Regions from separate parts of the Homo sapiens genome. Here regions 1, 2, 4, 5, 6 and 7 are each linked to region 3. The links are contacts of gene promoters, found by promoter capture Hi-C in blood cells and fetal thymus (Javierre and others, 2016). All regions are on one chromosome and are shown on one strand. The core of a region is centred on a gene start or on the middle of the fragment in contact, and the rest is flanking DNA. Distances in the headings are between cores, read along the strand shown. Region 1 holds the start of TRR-TCG4-1 (tRNA-Arg (anticodon TCG) 4-1). Region 2 holds the start of H2BC6-AS1 (H2BC6 antisense RNA 1). Region 3 holds the start of H4C12 (H4 clustered histone 12). Region 4 has its middle 2.1 kb from the start of H2AC8. Region 5 holds the start of H2BC4 (H2B clustered histone 4). Region 6 has its middle 3.7 kb from the start of HFE. Region 7 has its middle 2.1 kb from the start of H4C6.

Region 1 (2,700 bases), core at 12-2,511, 1.5 Mb after region 3:
TTAATCCAGCTCCAAAAGATGTTTTTCATGTTATTTATTTATTTATTTTCTGAATCCCACTCTCAAAGCAGAAAGGCTTACACATTCATCAAAGGGTGCATATATTTTTATTTGGTGGATTTGGGACAAGTTCCTAAATCACGGTGACCATTTAAGACTCAGGATGTCCACAGATTTCCCTATCTTTTTCAGTTTTCTCCCTTTTGGCACTTCCCAGTCTGGAAAGTCTCTCTCCTCCTTTTGGCATTCTTTGCTATCAGTGCAGTAGAGAAAGAAAGAAAAAGAAGAGAGAAAGGGTTATGACAGGCAAATTTTTATATTCTTGCATCAGAATTTCCACTTTCATTAAATGCTTGAGGGAGGCTGTGGGGCCCCTGGAAAAAGTCTTGTTCATCCTCTGGTACACAGGGTTACATACTGATCAGAGAGAGAGGAGGAAGCTTTTTCCTGTTCTTAGAATCAAGAAAAAAGGTGGGCTATGTAATTCTCAAGTATCACTGTATTCATTTTAAAAGGTTACTCTTCTTTTGAGGTTATATCCTTTTTCTAGTTTATAAAAGGATGCTCAGTGCAAATGGTGGGTTTTGCCATTAACAAGGCAGAACATGGTTTTGCATGACATTAGGACATTGACACTTTCTAATCCAATAAATTTCAAAGTCTGGAAACCAATGCTCAATCCCCACATTTTTTATACAACTTGGAATCTACAGATGACTAGAGGAAACCAGAATCAAACAGAGCTATGGAAGAAGCTGGGGACAGGGAGAGGTAATTATTACTAATTTTAATATTCTTTGCTTTGATCTAGAAACACACTTATGGACTCCATGTGATTTGAATCAATGATCTCATCTGGATGGAGTCAAATGTCTTATGTTTCATCATGATGTCAGCAATTGGAAATTACTTTTCCTTAATCCTAAATTATTATTAAATTCAGGCACACAAAATGTTATTTAGGAATACAAAATGTTTTTTATATATTTTGCACAGCTGTGTTCCCTGTCTTTTCCTGTTTGCACACACACACTGTAACCAGTTGGACTATTTTAATTACCTTTATATTTTTGCTTTGCAATATAAAATTCAATATTAGGTATTCTCATCCTTTTGATGGCAACACACCCACAACAAAAAAGTTAAAATGGAGAGTAAGAACTAGTAACATAGGCTTCAGCAGCTGCCAAAACTCCTTGGTACACGCGGATGTAGACTAAAAAAGAAATGTGAAGAGTTTTTGGCCTAGTGCTAAATCAGAAGAAGCAACAGGTTTCCTACTGTGCTAGCCACTGGGGCCTGGCATTAGTCTGAGACGCTACAGTTTGAGACAGCTTGGCTTATAGATCTGAATTTCTTTTTTTCAAGGAATTGAATCCTTGAATTGAATCTAAGCCTACAAAACCGAAACGCAGGTGCTTAAAATCCAAACTTGGGGAGAACCTGACAGCTCCAAAGTAGTAGATGGCTGTATTTCAGTTTTGACTTTCCAGTCTTTCTTCACTCTGTCACTTGTTCTCCTAAGGCCTTTGAGAATGTCTCCTTCTTCCCTTTAAAGGAGAGGAGATGGAAGAAAAAAAGGATTCAGAAAACCCAGAGAGTGTATGATTTATTTTTTTCTTGGAATGAAATGGGTAATAAAATTTTCATGCCCGAAAACGAACCCCACTTAACCACGAAGGGATTCGAACCCTCAATCTTCTGATCCGAAGTCAGACGCCTTATCCATTAGGCCACGTGGTCCCCCGCAGTTCCGTTGTTGCTGCAATACTTAGAAAATAAAACGAGCTTCCCCCCACCCGCCCCCTCCAACCCCCCGTGTTGGCATCTACAGCGCCCGTGTTTTCGCCAATGAGAAAATGAAAACTTTAGATTAGGTGGGATATTTGGGGCCACAGAATCGGGATTTATAAACGGTTGGTATCGACAATTATTTTAGTCTTGTGGTAATATAACTACTCCTTGGAGAGAAAAGTCGTTTGTTCTGACTCCCAAGGCAGAAGAAGCGGAGTTTATGGCATCTAAAAGATGCTAAAATTCTGCATATTGTCTGCATCGAAGGATATGTTAAAATAAGCTTACTCAAGGTTTCTTCCCTATGATGCTCATCCACATTCACCATTTACAGACTAGGTTCTTGCAGGGTCTGCCCAGATAGTTGTTAAGAAAACTGTACCTGGAAGGCAGTTTTACCACAAGGCAACATCTGTACCGTGGTCTTTCTCGCCATCCTGCATGGATATCTGCAGACCCCGGAGACAATTACCCCCTCTCCATGCTGTTCTGGTACTTTCTCTGATTGTGATAATGTGATATCAGAGCACTTTTCGTGGTATGGTTCTGTTTAGAAAGGAAAGAAAATACTTTCCTTGGGGTTTCTCAGGAGTGCCGAGCGGACTAGAGCCATTACCAGTTTTTGAGGTTCCCATATATTAAGAAGTGAAGGAACACGAAATAGAAATGCAAAAATTTTTATTATTAACAATTTTTACATTTAATAGATGAATCAACACGAAAATGTAATGCATTAGCATCATACTATGGAGAAGATATTTATAGAATTTATAATGTTCCGTAGCGCTCTTGGCCCCATCATGGCATATAAAGTTCTATTTTGTGTGGCTTCTTTCAAGCCTGTCAGTGAATCTCTGTGAAGTCAAGTACTTCATTTGAAGATAATGTCAACAGCCTACATATAAG
Region 2 (2,700 bases), core at 185-2,684, 1.7 Mb after region 3:
TTAGAAAAAAATGCCTATTATGAGAAAAAATGGAAACCAGGAGAAATTGCAGAGACCATGTTATTTAAATAAATAGCTGATTATATAGGGTTTATTCTAAGAATAGAAGGAAGTTTAGTATTCTAAATCTGCCAGTTTAAGAAATTAATAAAGGAAGGCCCAGAGCAGTGGCTCACGCCTGTATTCCTAGCACTTTAGGAGGCTGAGGCAGGTGGATCACTTAATGTCAGGAGTTCAAGGCCAGCCTGGCCAATGGCGGCCTATCTTCTTCTGATAATACAAAACTTAGCCAGATGTGGTGGCACGCACCTGTAGTCCCTGTTACTTGGGAAAGTGAGGCAGAAGAATCGCTTGAACCTGGGAGGTAGAGGTTGTAATGAGCTTAGATCAGGGCACTGCACTCCAGCCTGGGAGACAGAGTGAGATTCCATCTCAAAATAAAAACTAAAATAATAAAAAATAAAATAAAATAAAATAAAATAAATAAAATAAAAAAGAGATTAATAAAGAAAAAACATGATCATCTCCAAAGATACTGCGAAAGCATTTAACAAAATATAACACTCTTTAATCATAAACACTTAACAGACTACAATGAGAAGAGAACTTCATAAGGAGGAGCTACAGCGAGTATAACACTTAATGGTGCCGTTTTGGAAGGATTCCCATAGAGGCGGAAGGAAGACAAGTGTGGTGAGAAAGTACTCCTATTCAACACGGCATCACAGGGTTTGGCCAATACCATGAGATAGGAACAGGCAGTCAGAAGAGCAAGGATTCAATAGGAAAAGATGATTATCTTTGAAAATAACATAATTGTCAAGGTAAAAGTTCACAAGAATCTATAAACAATTAGATCAAATAAGAATTGGAATTAGTGGGCATAGGCCAGGCGTTGTGGCTCACGCCTGTAATCCCAGCACTTTGGGAGGCCGAGGCGGGCGGATCACGAGGTCAGGAGATCGAGACCATCCTGGCTAACACGGTGAAACCCCGTCTCTACTAAAAAATACAAAAAAACTTAGTCGGGCGTGGTGACTGTAGTCCCAGCTACTCGGGAAGCTGAGGCAGGAGAATGGCGTGAACCCGGGAGGCAGAGCTTGCAGTGAGCCGAGACTGCGCCACTGTACTCCAGCCTGGGGGACAGAGCGAGACTCCGTTTCAAAAAAAAAAAAAAAAAAATTAAAGTCATATGAAGATTAATATGTAACATCTTCTTCGACTTAAATGTTCATTTTTTTCCTTCTGACTTTAGAAGAAATTAAAATATTTTCATGAGCCTCCAAAAGAACTGCGGACCCTAGACACCGTGCCTGCTGTTTAATGGAGTACGGCACTGCGTGTACCGGAAGATGATTTTTTTAAAAAAAAACTCAATTAGGAAATAATTATTCGCACACATTCATATACATACATACATACACTGAATCCTCACACGAAGAGCCCTACAGGCGTGAGAACAGTAAGGGAGATGCAAGAAAGGTCTCCTTGGAGTTGGGAGGCGTATTTACAGCTACTAGAGAAGGGGGAAGTGCCAGCTCCCCGAGAAGAAAGCAGGAGGATGCTGAGAGACTAAAGCTGAAATTTTCTGCCTGCTTCCTCACTCTTTTCGTTGGTTTCAGCCGTCTGAAAAACCCTTGTGAGAGGAGCAAAAAGGTCAAGGGAAGATTGTTGCCTTGCTCTCAGTCTTCAAAATTTTCGATCCTCCGTTTTTTTTGTTTTGAGACGCAGTCTCGCTCTGTCGCCTAGGCTGGAGTGCAGCGGCGCGATCTCGGTCACTGCAACCTCCGCCTCCCTGGTTCTAGCGATTCTTCTGCCTCAGCCTCCTGAGTAGCTGGGACTACAGGCGCGTGCCACCACACCCGGCTAATTTTTTTGTACTTTTGATAGGGACGGGGTCTCACGGTGTTAGCCAGGATGGTCTCTATCTCCTGAACTCGTGATCCGCCCGCCTCGGCCTCCCAAAGTGCTGGGATTACAGGCGTGAGCCACCGCGCCCGGCCGGTCCTCTGTTTTTAAACTGTAAAGGACTCCAGCGGATTGTTCGAAGTCTCCGATATCCCGCGATCTGGTGGCCGCAGAAGAAAGAGGCCGAGTCGGCGGGGACTGGGAACCACCAGTTAGCGGCCTACGGGCAACCTCCCGGACGCGCGCGCCGGGCCGACGTTAAACGTACGTGACGCCCTATGCGGGAGCCGGATGGGCGTAACGGGGCGGCGGCGTAACGTGTGGCTCTGTGGTTAGGGCACGGAGGGGCGTGGCCGGACGGCCCTATGAGGGGGCCGGCGTTTTTGGCGAGGGTTGATGGGATGACCCTATGAGGGAGCCTGCGTGGAGGGGCACGACCGGCCCCAAGACTCCTTTTCATGGCCGCATAGCCGCACCGGGAGTAGGATGACCGCTGTTATTTTTCAGGACCTCTCATCTTCGGTTTGAAATTCTTTGCTTTTTTCCGGCTTTGTGTGGCTATTTAGTATTAGCATTTTAGGGCAGTTTCATTTCCTTTAAAGTAAAACTCTCCAAAGTGGTCTCCGGACCAGCAGCATCAGCATCACCTGCATAATTTAGAAGTACAAATTATCAGGTCCTACCTCAGATCTAATGCATCAGAAAAGTTTTGTGACTGCTTCAAAACATTGTTTCCCTTAATTCAGATGCTGGAGGAGACCTTTCAAATGGCAGCTTAGCATAAGCTAACCA
Region 3 (2,700 bases), core at 49-2,548:
ACCCTGTATTTATTAATAAGAAAGAAAATCAAATATACGGAATCAAAGTTGCTCCATAATGGTTGATAACAAATCTTTAGTTGGGTCATATAAAAGTGTCTTTTTAAAAACCTACAAGCGTCCAAGCGAAGCGGCTCACGCCTGTAATCCCAGCACTTTGGGAGGCTGAGGCGGGCGGATCACGATGTCAAGAGATCAAGAGCATCCTGTCCAACATGGTGAAACTTGTTCTTTACTAAAAATACAAAAAATTAGCTGGGCGTGGTGGCGCATGCCTGTAGTCCGCGCTAATCCGGAGGTTGAGGCATGAGAATCGCTTGAACCCGGGAGGTGGAGGTTGCAGTGAGCCGAGATTGCACCACTGCCCTCCGGCCTGACGACAGAGCGAGACTCCTTCCAAAAAAAAAAAAAAACCCCACACACAAAACCTACAAACACCAATTTTCTAGTTATAAGAGCTTGTTTTAAGGATTTTAATTCTATTCCAATTAAGTCCTAAAGCTAATGCAATTATCAAAATCTCGAAGAGATTTTATTCAAACTTCACAAAAGGTCTCTAAAGTTGTCCAGAAACCTTGGTGAAACAGATTAGGAAATTTGGAAAGGAAATAATGCGGAGACCCGTAGTACCAAATCATGAGACCTCTAATACAATTTTAAATATTAATGTAATAAAATTTAAATTTTGGTGTAATAAAATCATAAATTTCAATATTGGTCCCAAGTATAGAGAAAAAGTACATTTATGTTGAATGTGGAAAACATTATTTTTAAAATACAGCCGATTAAAAAATTGCTGGGGAACTGATTATAACTATTGATAATTCCTAAGAAACATAGACACCAAAACATCACTTTTATCTCTTTAATAGAAATTGGTTAAATTATAATCAATATAAGGAGGTTACAAAACTCCATATACAACACTGTATACATTTTCTTGGAAAAATATGTGCAACTGCTCTGCAAAATACATGATTAACTAGCCTGTGTGATGGGATAACATTGTAGTTTCTTAATTTCTTGTCCTTTCTTGTATTTCCCACAGTATTGATGTATATCTTCTGCGTTCAAAAGCAATTTTTTAAAGCCTCATAACGTGGTAACAAAATACTATGCACGTTACAAAATTCAGAACACGGAAACAAGAAGCTCGCTTTTTTTTTCCCCCTATTTCGGTTTGGCCCTTTAGATTTCCCCTCCCCCACCGGGGCGGGACTTCCCGCCGACTTCTTTCAGGTTCTCAGTTCGGTCCGCCAACTGTCGTATAAAGGCGCTGCCTCAGGCCAGAGTCCTCACAAAGCGTTGGGTGAGACTCCTCTTGCTCGTCATGTCTGGCCGCGGCAAAGGCGGGAAGGGTCTTGGCAAAGGCGGCGCTAAGCGCCACCGTAAAGTACTGCGCGACAATATCCAGGGCATCACCAAGCCGGCCATCCGGCGCCTTGCTCGCCGCGGCGGCGTGAAGCGCATCTCCGGCCTCATCTACGAGGAGACTCGCGGGGTGCTGAAGGTGTTCCTGGAGAACGTGATCCGGGACGCCGTGACCTATACAGAGCACGCCAAGCGCAAGACGGTCACCGCCATGGATGTGGTCTACGCGCTCAAGCGCCAGGGCCGCACCCTCTACGGTTTCGGTGGTTGAGCGTCCCTTTCTATCAACAAAAGGCCCTTTTTAGGGCCCCCACTTTCTCAGCTGAGGAGCCGTGATGCTTGTTTGCCCAGTTTCTCTTTACCATTTGTTCGCGCCTGCTGAGTTTGTGCTGCTATCGGAGCATGCGTCTCTAGTCGCTGTAAGTAGGCATCAGTCACTAATCGCTCTCCAGTAAATAAAATACCCAACACAACTTGTTTCAGGTGCTCCAGAGCTTACTGACATGGGCCGTCGCGCAGACTGTAGTGCAGTGTCATCATGGCTCACTGTAGCCTCCCGATTAGCCGGAACCTCGCGCCCACCACCACGCAAGGCTAATTATTTTTCCAAAGACCGGGTCTCCGTGTGTTTCCCAGGCTAGTTTCGATATCCTGGCCTCAATCCCCTCGCCTATGCCTAATGTTGGTATTACAGTAGTGAGCCACCACGCCTGGCCACGATACTGTTGAGGTTTTAGGGTTAGTTACATTTAAGGGGCAATTTTCGCAGTGTAGTGGGGAGGAAAGTCAAGCAGTTATAGGTTTCTGGCGCTGTGAATCCAACTGCTGAACATAGCAAGAACTTATTATGCAACAACCTTTAATCAGTGGACCGTAAATAAGTTTAGTTTATCGGTTTTGGCCCAATTCTTGAGAAAGGTGAGAATTTGAATCCTTGAGTAGAAATACGTAGCTTATCAGTACAACAAAGTGATCACAACAAAGACTAACTTATCCTTTGTTACTTAACGTGGGCAGAGCTTTACCGCTGAGAATTCCTCAGCCTTTGAGTGTTCTCTTATTTACAACTGAAGTTGATAAGATGGTATTAAAAGTGAGATTCCTAGTAAGTAAACTTAAAGGCCTGAAGGACCAGTGATTAATGGGAAGTGCTAATAAGTCATATTTGAGGTTATCCAACCCGAGATTCTGATTTAATTGGTTTAAGGATACTATCACCTTGTGGGTTAGATTTGAAAAATAATAATTGCTTTAAGGAAGGAACCTGTTGGTATTTAAACAAAAAACTTTCCTTCCTGATTCTTACATGCCGTCACTTAGACAAATCTC
Region 4 (2,700 bases), core at 31-2,530, 1.6 Mb after region 3:
ACTGAAATGTAGGGCAGAAGTCCATGATCTGCATTCTCAGGAGACTGGTCACAACCAGTTGTGGGCCTGCAGTCATTTATCAAGAAACTCTATGGTCCTTAATATCTGTCTTGTCTGGACCACCATGGAGGAGGGTGGAAGAGGCCAGATAAAGTAAGTAAAAGGGCTTTCCGGTGTATTATTCCCTCAAATCGGACTTTGAGAAAATCTAGCAGTGATTAGAAAGGGGAAGAGGGGTAGAAACAAACAGGATGTGCAGCCTCCATCCTGTCATGCCTGGGAACTTAAACTTTTGGGGTCTTTTAGCCAAAGGAGGGTCCATTATTCTGTCAAAGGGGTTTAGAATTTTCATTTCATCCCTCACCTCTTTGAACATGCATTCCTTCCTTCTGGGTATTGGGTATGGGACAGCTCCATCTCTGGAATGGGGTCTTATGACCTGCAATTAAACAAGGTGGATCAAATAATTTCTCTGTGTCCAGTTTTTACACGAAAAGTTGGAAGGGAAGTTAGAGTAATATTTTTAGTTTTTGTGGTTGGCTTTGGGGAAAAAGGATTCTGGTTGTCATAAGCCACCTTGGGAAACCGGAATTCTAGTTTCTATGTCTAGCCTCAGGGGAGAATGGGACTGAGAGACAAGAGGGCAGGAGAAAGTCACAGAAAAATTTTGCTTCTGAGGTTGCTTCTTTGGCCTTCATTTTGGGGTATTGTTTCTGAGCCCCAATTTGATTGAGTAAAGAATGTCAGGGAGTTATACTATGGGGCTTCATAGACATTTATCTTGCAATTGCTATATTTTAATCGTGTTTTAGTGAAAATTTTATTTAAGAAACATTGTAAGACTTGTGAGGAAAAAAGGGAGGGGGAAGAATGTATCCCACTATAAAAAATTTATAGTTTTTACAAAGTTTGCAGGGAAATGTGCTTACATCATCTCACAATTTACCATTGATTAAAGGTATCAAACTATCGAAGTTACTTCTTGGAGGCTTTTGTCTGGTGATGCAAATAATTTCTGTTATTTGTATCACCAGAAATTATTTTTGATGCAAATTATTTGTGATGCCAATAACTTCTGTTCAGTGGAACACATATAACTGCAATTATTTAGAACCCTAGGGGCATTAATTTTTTTAATAATCTCATTCAGCAACCTTGTCCTAACATTTAAGAAAGGGCAGCTTTTCCCTTAAGTAGCTCAGTGACTTCTGGTAGCGATGAATTTCAGCATGATTCAGGGCCTATATCTGAGGGACACCTTCAAGCTGCTGGTGGCCAGAGTGCTCTTGCTGGCTGCCTTGGTGGCCAGCTGCTTAGGAGGCTGTCTGCCACCAGTGGACTTCCGTGTGGTTGGCTTGGTGCAGGCCATGACCTTTCATATCAGATTTACAGATCACTTCTCTTTATAGGGCCTGGTGTGTGATCCAATTAGATTTGAGATTTTTTACAGAGAAATGTGACTGGATTTCTACTAAAGTTGAATAATTAATTGTGCTTTACAGTGTAGTCCATTTATAAATTTAGGTCATAAAACTAAGTTTTTGCTGCTGGGTTTTTTTTGTTTTTTTTTTTTTTTCCTTTCCTAAACAGGATCTTGCTTTGCCCCCCATAGCTCGCTGCAGCTTCGAACTCCTGGGCTCAATCAATCCTTCCCCGCGTAATTCTCCCAAGTATCTAAGATCTCAGACTGAGCCACCAGGCCAGGCTTTTTCTTTTCTTTTCTTTTTTTTTTTTGAGACGACGGAGTCTCGCTCTATTGTCCAGGCTGGAGTGCAATGGCATGATCTTGGCTCACTGCAACCCCCGCCTCCCGGGTTCAAGCGATTCTCCTGCCTCAGCCTCCCGAGTAGCTGGGATTTCAGGAGCCCACCGCCATGCCTGGCTAATTTTTTTGTATGTTTAGTAGAAACAGGGTTTTGCCACGTTGGCCAGGCTGGCCTCGAACTCCTGACCTCAAGTGATCCGCCCATCTCGGCCTCCCAAAGTGCTGGGATTATAGGCATGAGCCACCGGGCAGGGCAGGCTTTTTACTTTTTGTGGAGGTGAGGGGGCTGTCTCGCTTTATTGCCCAGGCTGGTCTTGATCTCCTGGGCTCAAGCGATTCTTCTGCCTTAGTCTTTCAAATTGCTGGGATTACAGGTCTGACCTAGGGCGTCAGGCCGTTACTGCTTAGTTTCGTTTAGTGTTTATTTTAGAATACTGTGTTAATTGCTCCTTTTGAAAAGAGAAATCCAACAAACACAATTCTCACTAGAGGAATGTAGTCTTTTTTTTTTTTTTTTTTTTTGAGACGTAGTCTTGCTCTGTTACCCAGGCTGGAGTGCAATAGCGTGATCTCGGCTCACTGCAGCCTCTGCCTCCCGGAGTCAAGCGATTCTCCTGCCTCAGCCTCCCAAGTTGCTGGGACTACAGATGCACACCACCACGCCCGGCTACTTTTTGTATTTGTTTAGTAGAGACGGGCTTTCATTATGTTGGGCAGGCTGATTTCGAACTCCTGACCCTATGATCCGCCCTCCTTGGCCTCCCAAAGTGTTGGGATTACAGGCATGAGCCACTGAGCCCAGCCGGAATGCAGTCATCTTTAAAACTTAAAAAGCCCGCCCTGAAATGCTAATGGGCAGCTATCCTTCTTTGTTCTCTCGTTTCTGTATTAATATTTCACCCTTTTCTGACAAGTGCACATGAATAAACAGCCTG
Region 5 (2,700 bases), core at 73-2,572, 1.7 Mb after region 3:
AGCTTCTTAAAATACAAGAGTAAGTTGCATGTCAGGCACCGTTCTACATTAGGGACATTAGTCTGTTTTACAGACACCTTTCAACTCCCTGGTTAACTTTTAGGTAATATACTCTGCACTTTAGCAGGAATGGGACCTATAACTCTCACAGAATTAGGAAAGTGAGGCTGCCTACAGCCTAAATTGAGAAAAAAATAGACGGGGGACTAGTCGGAGGACCAAACAAGGTTACCAACACGTTAGAGTTTTGCCTTCAATTTACATTTTTAAAGTAATCACAACGAAGTGTTTAGATCACGAGGCATCCCTGCATGTAAACTGTTAGGCACTAACTATGGTCGATCTTACAAAGCATTAACTAGAATATTTCTTTAGAGTATGATAGTACGTAACTGACCTACTATTACATACAAACAGACCAACCTTTAGTAACAGCGCTCCCCAAAAACCGAAAAGCAGTAATACGCTTTGCTCAAGGTTGGCATAAAATTAACTTACCTTAGTGCCTTTTTTCCTTCTACCTACAAGCAGTGAGGTTAGCTCTTCCTTTGAAACGGTAGGGGGGCTCTGAAAAGAGCCTTTGGGTTTGATAGCGTTTCCGGGAGCTCAGATACCTGTCAAATCACTTGCCCTTGGCCTTGTGGTGACTCTCGGTCTTCTTAGGCAGAAGCACGGCCTGGATGTTAGGAAGGACGCCGCCCTGAGCAATGGTCACCCGGCCTAGCAGTTTGTTGAGCTCCTCGTCGTTGCGGATGGCCAGCTGCAAGTGGCGCGGGATGATGCGAGTCTTCTTGTTGTCGCGAGCCGCGTTGCCGGCCAGCTCCAGGATCTCGGCGGTCAGGTACTCTAACACCGCCGCCAGGTACACCGGCGCGCCTGCCCCAACCCGCTCTGCGTAGTTGCCTTTACGGAGCAGGCGGTGCACTCGGCCCACCGGGAACTGGAGACCAGCGCGAGAAGAGCGGGATTTCGCTTTGGCGCGAGCTTTGCCTCCTTGCTTACCACGTCCAGACATTGCAATCAGACAAAAATCACCAAAACCAGCGGCCTAAGCTCACGAGAAAACAAACAAAATCAAGAAATATGTAAAACATGGCCGCTTTTATAGGTAGTTCCTGGGGAGTAAATCCGACTTTTTGATTGGTCGGTAGCAAATGCTAGTCAGATAGCCAATAGAAAAGCTGTACTTTCATACCTCATTTGCATAGCTCTGCCCACGGATGACAACTGTGCAGTTTGTCTTCCAATTAACTAAGAGGTACTCTCCATCCCTCATTAGCATAAAAGCCCTATAAGTAGCAGAAATCCGCTCTTTACTTTCGACACATTTCTGGTGTTTTAAGATGCCTGAGCCAGCCAAGTCTGCTCCCGCCCCGAAGAAGGGCTCCAAGAAGGCAGTGACCAAAGCGCAGAAGAAAGATGGCAAGAAGCGCAAGCGCAGCCGCAAGGAGAGTTACTCTGTGTACGTGTACAAGGTGCTGAAACAGGTCCATCCCGACACTGGCATCTCTTCCAAGGCCATGGGCATCATGAATTCTTTCGTTAACGACATATTTGAGCGCATCGCGGGCGAGGCTTCCCGCCTGGCGCATTACAACAAGCGCTCGACCATCACCTCCAGGGAGATCCAGACGGCCGTGCGCCTGCTGCTTCCCGGAGAGCTGGCCAAGCACGCCGTGTCGGAGGGCACCAAGGCCGTCACCAAGTACACCAGCTCCAAGTAAACATTCCAAGTAAGCGTCTTAACACCTAACCCCAAAGGCTCTTTTAAGAGCCACCCAGATACCCACTAAAAGAGCTGTGGCCAGACGCCAAATTTTATTTGGCGGCGGAGGGGTATTAGAATATAGGAACTGGAGAGGGGTGGGGACAAGTGTTGCAGCTTAGAGAGGGACAAAGGGTCCTGAACCCGAAAGAAGCCAGCCATTAAAAATGGCTTTGGGGTCAATTCGTTGTGCTTAAATTTAAAATGGAGACAAGCGGCCATTTTGCTAACTCGGCGTTCCCGGAAGAAACCGCAGGCTCGCTTAGGTTTCAGACCCAGCTGTCTGTCCCTGTCTACGTCGCCAGGATCAACGGTTGCCGTAATGTCATAATTTCGCCACCAGCTTCTAGCCAATAGGCTGTCCTGTCATTTTAAATATTAACCAATCGAGGGAAAGCTGTTTTGAGACTCTGATTTACATAGCGGACCGGAGTGGGAACCTGGGCAGTAACTGCCTAAGGAAGGACTCCCCCTCTGTTTTCGTGGCGCACACCTTCGTAGTATACTGAAGGGTGTGTCTCCTGGGTTTCCAACTGCCCCGGTAATAGTCTTTTAACCTAATATGCGTCAGTTTTGATAACAACACTAAGGCAGTACAGAACTAAAGATGTAAGCACTGCGCCAGATGTTGCTTCATACATCTTATTCTATTCAACTGGTTTATTCAAGATTCAAATCAAATCAAATTTTGCTTGAATCCCAGTGCTCAGTCAGCCATAAATGGTGTGTTGCCTGATTGAAACTTAAAATCTCCGTAGGGGGCTTGTAACATGCAGACAAGTTTGAAAGTTGCTTTAGGAGAAGCCAACTCTTAACTGCTGGGTAAATTGACAAGCCTTCGAACACTGAACTGAAGGCCAGTAAGGACTAGGCGCTGGGTGGGGGAGAATGAAGAGGAGACGTCATTAAACTTAGCACATACACTGTATCTCCTA
Region 6 (2,700 bases), core at 171-2,670, 1.7 Mb after region 3:
GCATAATGTTTTTATGTATGTTTTTCATGGACCAATAATATCTATTATAAGGACATACCACAACATATTTTATTTATTCATTCATCAGCCGATGGACATTGGTTTGTTTCTACTTTATGGCTATTGGGAATAGTGCTGTTATAAACATTTATGTACAAGTTTTTTTGTAGACTTATGTTTTGATTTCTTTTGGTTATATATCTAGAAGTGGGTTTGCTGGGTCATATGGTAACACTGTTTAACCTTTTGAGGAATTGCCACATTCTTTTCCAAAGTAAGCATTTTATCCTCCTATCAGCAGTGTATGAGAGTTCTGATTTCTCTCCATCTTTGCCTGGGTTTTTGAATCAGGGCCCCAGATAGAACAAAAATGTGGTTATTCAGTTGTTCCACCATCACTTGTTGAGAAGACTCTTTTTTCATTGAAGTGTTTTGGCACCCTTATCAAAAATCAATCTACCATAAATGTGAGAGTTTATTTCTGGAGTCTCAATTTTATCCCATTATGCTATAATCTATAATCCTATCTTTTTTTTTTTTTGACAGAGCCTCACTCTATTGCCCAGGTTGGAGTGCAGTGGCCCAATCCCGGCCACTGGCTCCTCCTCCCAGGTTCAAGCAATTCTCCTGCCTCAGCCTCCCAAGCAGCTGGGATTACAGGTACCTGCCACCATGCCTGGTTAATTTTTGTATTTTTAGTAGAGACGGGGTTTCACCATGTTGGTCAGGCTGGTCTGGAACTCCTGACCTCAGGTGATCTGCCCACCTCAGCCTCCCAAAGTGCTGGGATTACAGGCATGAGCCACCACACCCAGACTATAATCCTATCTTTATGTCAGGACTACACTGTCTTGATTACTATAGCTTTTTAGTAAATTGAATTCAAGAAGTTTCTCAACTTCAAATTTGATCTTTTTTTGGAAGACTATATTAGCTATTCTCAGTCTGCTGAATTTCCCTAGGAATTTTAGGATCTATTATCAATGTCTATTCTATTTTTGTATATGTTTTAATATTTTCATAAGAAACTTTTTTCATTTAAACTTTTTTTTTTAAGAAAAATAGTGAAAATCAGAACACTGGGGGTCAGGCGCATTTAACAGGCAGAAGAAGAATAAAAACTTGTCATATAAACAAAAAAGAAATGACCAATCACATTGTGGAAGCCATGGAGTGGTTATAGGTGCCAAAGGCTGCAGAGAAATGGTGTCAGATATACCTGAAAATTGTCCATTGTATTTGGCCATTAAGAGACTTAGAAGACTTAAGCCATAGATTGCTCAGTGAGACCCCGAGGGCAAATGGTCTGAAGGTGAATAGATCATTTCACCTTTAAGAGAGCAGGTAGGAAGCTATAAATCCAAGATTAAAAAGTTGACTGAACTGTTAAGGAAGAAACTCTAATCTTGAGCCACCCTATCCTGGCTCCACCTTCTGCTGCAAGCAAACAGAAATGCTGAAATTCAACACTCACAAAGGCTGGTAAGCTGGAAATGACAAAAATTACTCCTGGGAAAGTCAGATTTAGAATTAGGCCATATTTGTTGGGGTTCAGATTTTCATGTACACTTGGGAAAGGGTTTAGCTTATAGGCACATGCATGAAGGGAACTGGTATAGGGCTGTGTTCATAAGGTCAAGAGTTGAAGGCCAGGCATGGAGGCTCTTGCCTGTAATCCCAGCACTTTGGGAGGCCGAGGCAGGAGGATGGCTTGAGCCCAGGAATTCAAGACCAGCCTGGGAAACATAGGGAGATGCTGTCTTCACAAAACAATTAAAAAATAAAATTAGTCAGGTGTGGTGGCACACACTTGTGGTCCCAGCCACTCAGGAGGTTGGGAAGATCACTTAAGCCTGGGACATTGAGGCTGTAGTCAGCCATGATAGTGCTACTGCACACCAGTCTAGGTGACAGAATGAGACCCTGTCTCCAAAAAAAGAGCTGTATCCACATCCCAGGAAAGTGGTTGAAGATCTACTTTTCTCTGTAAACCTAATAAAGAATAGAGTGACAAATGTGTGTTGTGGAAAGAAATGGGGTGAGAGCTACGTAGATGCAAAACAATACATCCCCACATACCACTTGTTAATCATCCTTTTCCACCCACTTATGGGATGAATTGCATCTCCCCAAAAGATACTCTGTCCTAACCCTCAGTAGCTGTGAACCTGACCTTATCTGGAATACGGTGAGTTCACTGGTTAAGAAGAGATTATAGTGGAATAGGGTGAGTCCTCCAACCAATGACTGGGGTCCTCACAGACACAGAGGGATGATGGCCAGGTAGAGATGGAGGCAGAGATTGGAGTTATGCTGCCACAAACCAAACACAGGAAGCTGCTAGAAGTGGAAACAGGCAAGAAAGAATCCTTCCCCAGAGGCTACAGAGGGATCTTGGCCCTGATAATACCTTGATCTCAACTGGCCTACGTAACTGTGAGAGAATAAATTTCTTTTGTTCTAAGCCACCCAGTTGATAGTACTTTGTTACGGCAGCCCTAAGGAACTTGATATACATTTCTTTTACTGTCATAGAAGTTTTGAATCTTTTAAGTAGGTCTGTACCCTTCCTCCCAGTGTCAACACATGGAATTCCTCTCCTTGTGCCTTGAAAAGTGAAAGGTGTTTGAACTGGTAATGAAAGAAATCTCAGCATGAGGCCAGATGCTGTACCTCACACCTGTAATCTCAGCACTTCGG
Region 7 (2,700 bases), core at 163-2,662, 1.6 Mb after region 3:
CTTCTGGGTTCAAGCGATTCTCATGCCTCAGCCTCACGAGTAGCTGTGATTTCAGGCACGCGTCGCCACACCTGGGTAATTTTTGTATTTTCTTAGTAAAGACGGGGTTTCGCCATGTTGGCCAGGGTGGTCTCGAACTCCTGACTTCAGGTGATCCACCCACCTTGGCCTCACAAAGTGCTGGGATTACTGGCGTGAGCCACCACGCCCGGCCATTTTTATTAATTCTTAAAATGTAGCAATACTTCTTAAATTTGGCCAATCATGAGACTTAGCGTTTGGCAGAGACATATACATTCACATCGTTTTTGGCATTCCTAATAAAGAAAGACCTCTAGTAAGGGAAACCAATATTAATTGAAGTTTCATTCTTAGTTTTTCAATGTATAATGCAATATCTGAGGTGTAAAGATAAGGAATCCCAGGCTTGAAGACATTATCCTCTAATAAATGGCATTGTATTGTTGGCTCGATTCTGGAGTCTCACTACCTTGCTACCTACCACTGCTTTCATGCCACTAAAGCATACATGGTAAATCATGGTGAATAAAGGTTTGTAAATTAACAAAAATAATACTAATAAATTCTGTGAAATACTGTCCTAATAAAAGATTCCGGAAGAAGTGTTCTACACACAGATCATAGGGTATGTGTAGTAGAAAAATTCAACATTAACTCTTACAGTCTACTGCTTCACATTCATTGCCTCCTATATACTGCAAGGGTAACTTAAAAATCCCGTCTCTGCTGGTGCCTAAAAGCAGTGAGAAGATTATTCATTTTGTGGAGTTAAGAGTCTACTTAAATTTTGGCTTAGGTTCAGTTACCTGTAGGAATAGACACAAGGATCTCAAGTGCTCTCCTTTTTGAGGTAGGCACCAAACAAGCATCATTCATTCATTCAACAATTTAATGTCCACTACATGCCAAGAATAGTGTACAAATACCAGGTTTACAAAGATAATCACATTTATTCTCTTAAAGAACTCAAAAGTTTAGTAAAGGGAAAAGTACACTCAGGGTTAGGGGGCAGATATCAGACCAGCATACTTCTACTTACTGTCAGGTATTTAAGGGCGGAGCAGCCATATCCCAGCTATACTGGCATCACTCTGAAGCTTGTTAGACATACAGAATTTCGGGCCCAACCCCAAATCAATGGAATTGATATTACATTTTTAATGAGATCTCTAAGTGGGTGGTAGGTATGCTCTTCCAAGTTTGAGAATAATTGTTTTAAAGCTCTGCTGTCCTATATTAGCCACTAGCAACATGTGCTCATTTTTATTTAAATTAATTTAAATTAAAAATTAATTTGCACACTTACTCTAGCCACATTACGGTACTCAGTAGCCACATATGGTTAGTGGCTACCTATTGGACAGTGTTAATACAGAATATTTTTATCATCGCAGAAAGTTTTATTGGGCTGTATCTGTGATAAGGGGGTTTCTTCTGAAGAGCTTCTAATCCAGTCTAGAAGGGAGGAGGGAGTTTGGTGGATGCCTGAGACATGTAAAGAGAAAACTGTAAGTTTGAGTATAGTAGTGGCCTTCTTAGGAAATAAAATTAACACAATACTGTTGTACTTGAAGAGGAATTTCAAGGAGCCAGTGTCCTCAGGTAAGACTACCTCATAGACGGTTACAATCGATGTGATTTCTCATGGACTTTTTGAACACGTTTGATTCTAACACAAAGCTTTATTTTCTATAATAGTCTATATATGTTTTCACCCCTTTTAATATTTATTCTATATAGTTTCTTTTTTTTTTTTTGGAAATCTTTAAAATCTGAATTGTGTGATGCTTAAGCACAGTGTCACTGGATTGATCTATTGAATACTACCTACAACTCTCATAGTCATTTACTATGGTGGTGGTGGGGATGGGGGAGTTAACACAAAATGAAGAGAACACTGGGCCTTAAGTTAGATAGCTATCACTTATCTAACTAGTTTTTCCTAGCTACTTTTTGCATCTATAAAATAAATGGTTCCAACCTCAGTGTAATGGGAAATCTACTGTTTTAGATTATATTCAGATTTAGGATTCCAAAGCAACACAGAACTCTTTTTGAGGGCTACCAAAGTAATAGGTGAAACTTTGCAGGACTTCAAGTTTACAGTCCATGGGGTGATCCAGCTTTCAGGAACCTTGTCCTTGCTACAATTACAGAGAAGATAAGTACCAGGTCCCAACTTATGTAGCCTAGCCCCTTTCCTCTTTGAACATCTGGCGAACTTTGTTGGTGAAACTGAGTCTCAGTTATTGCCCTCCAGAAAGAGCAGAGATTAGTTAGCCCAATGCCTTTTTACTTACTGAGATCCTAAGTAGCTATGGGAACCAGTCAGTGTTGCACAAGAATGAAATGGTGGCATCTGTTAATTGACTATATCTAACACGGTGAACAATTCCAACAATTATTCAACAACTATTAAGACTACAATAATGATCAAAATAATAAACAGTAAACAATCTGAATTTTAATTGTACCTTTACGTCTAGGCAATATAAAGCTATGGTCCCAAAAAAAAATACTTAGAGTATGCTTGTGACTATCACTGTTGAAAATGATATCCATAATGATGCACCGCCCCTGCCTCCAGAAACCTATAAAATGCTTCCCTACTGGAATTGTGGGGTCCTACTAATCCAATTCTATAAGTTTAGCTTTTTTATAAACCACATTTGTATTTCA

Evidence for each region. The method cuts DNA at HindIII sites, captures the fragments that hold promoters and counts their contacts. A CHiCAGO score of 5 or more calls a contact.
Region 1: a contact is called between a fragment that was not itself captured here and the fragment with the promoter of H4C12 in region 3, in 5 of 17 cell types (naive B cells, non-activated CD4 T cells, total B cells and 2 more). The highest score is 7.0, in naive B cells.
Region 2: the fragment with the promoter of H2BC6-AS1 here is called in contact with the fragment with the promoter of H4C12 in region 3 in 15 of 17 cell types (erythroblasts, naive CD8 T cells, activated CD4 T cells and 12 more); the score reaches 24.1 in erythroblasts.
Region 4: a fragment that was not itself captured here is called in contact with the fragment with the promoter of H4C12 in region 3 in 16 of 17 cell types (fetal thymus, total B cells, neutrophils and 13 more); the score reaches 32.8 in fetal thymus.
Region 5: the fragment with the promoter of H2BC4 here is called in contact with the fragment with the promoter of H4C12 in region 3 in 15 of 17 cell types (monocytes, M0 macrophages, total CD4 T cells and 12 more); the score reaches 22.9 in monocytes.
Region 6: a fragment that was not itself captured here is called in contact with the fragment with the promoter of H4C12 in region 3 in 6 of 17 cell types (monocytes, non-activated CD4 T cells, total CD4 T cells and 3 more); the score reaches 10.6 in monocytes.
Region 7: a contact is called between a fragment that was not itself captured here and the fragment with the promoter of H4C12 in region 3, in 16 of 17 cell types (fetal thymus, erythroblasts, non-activated CD4 T cells and 13 more). The highest score is 28.8, in fetal thymus.

The regions. Positions count from the first base shown.
Region 1 is chr6:26,298,720-26,301,419 of GRCh38, reverse strand. TRR-TCG4-1 (tRNA-Arg (anticodon TCG) 4-1) reads right to left here and starts at 1,743; the gene lies at 1,671-1,743. LOC124901287 (a long non-coding RNA gene) reads right to left here. Exons shown (of 2, transcript XR_007059520.1): 2 at 2,456-2,700. The HindIII fragment of the contact is 1,637 bases long and covers 443-2,079 here.
Region 2 is chr6:26,171,507-26,174,206 of GRCh38, reverse strand. H2BC6-AS1 (H2BC6 antisense RNA 1) reads left to right here and starts at 1,434. Exons shown (of 3, transcript NR_186648.1): 1 at 1,434-2,172. RefSeq lists an enhancer at 1,468-2,360. The HindIII fragment of the contact is 22,011 bases long and covers 1-2,700 here.
Region 3 is chr6:27,830,158-27,832,857 of GRCh38, reverse strand. H4C12 (H4 clustered histone 12) reads left to right here and starts at 1,298. Exons shown (of 1, transcript NM_003541.3): 1 at 1,298-1,684. The coding sequence starts at 1,331. The coding sequence ends at 1,642. RefSeq lists enhancers at 989-1,814, 1,738-1,847. The HindIII fragment of the contact is 8,845 bases long and covers 1-2,700 here.
Region 4 is chr6:26,217,714-26,220,413 of GRCh38, reverse strand. It overlaps the pseudogene H3C5P. Among named protein-coding and RNA genes, the nearest start is that of H2AC8, 2.1 kb to the right of the region's middle. RefSeq lists enhancers at 2,673-2,700, 2,698-2,700. The HindIII fragment of the contact is 3,747 bases long and covers 1-2,700 here.
Region 5 is chr6:26,122,548-26,125,247 of GRCh38, reverse strand. It overlaps H2BC4 (H2B clustered histone 4), which reads left to right and starts at 1,322. Exons shown (of 1, transcript NM_003526.3): 1 at 1,322-1,781. The coding sequence starts at 1,344. The coding sequence ends at 1,724. H2AC6 (H2A clustered histone 6) reads right to left here and starts at 1,076. Exons shown (of 1, transcript NM_003512.4): 1 at 558-1,076. The coding sequence starts at 1,015. The coding sequence ends at 623. RefSeq lists enhancers at 700-909, 1,000-1,139, 474-1,159, 1-1,166, 1,410-2,149 and 3 more and a silencer at 1,173-1,538. The HindIII fragment of the contact is 15,442 bases long and covers 1-2,700 here.
Region 6 is chr6:26,082,367-26,085,066 of GRCh38, reverse strand. No RefSeq gene overlaps it. Among named protein-coding and RNA genes, the nearest start is that of HFE, 3.7 kb to the left of the region's middle. The HindIII fragment of the contact is 4,963 bases long and covers 1-2,700 here.
Region 7 is chr6:26,236,933-26,239,632 of GRCh38, reverse strand. No RefSeq gene overlaps it. Among named protein-coding and RNA genes, the nearest start is that of H4C6, 2.1 kb to the left of the region's middle. The HindIII fragment of the contact is 583 bases long and covers 1,121-1,703 here.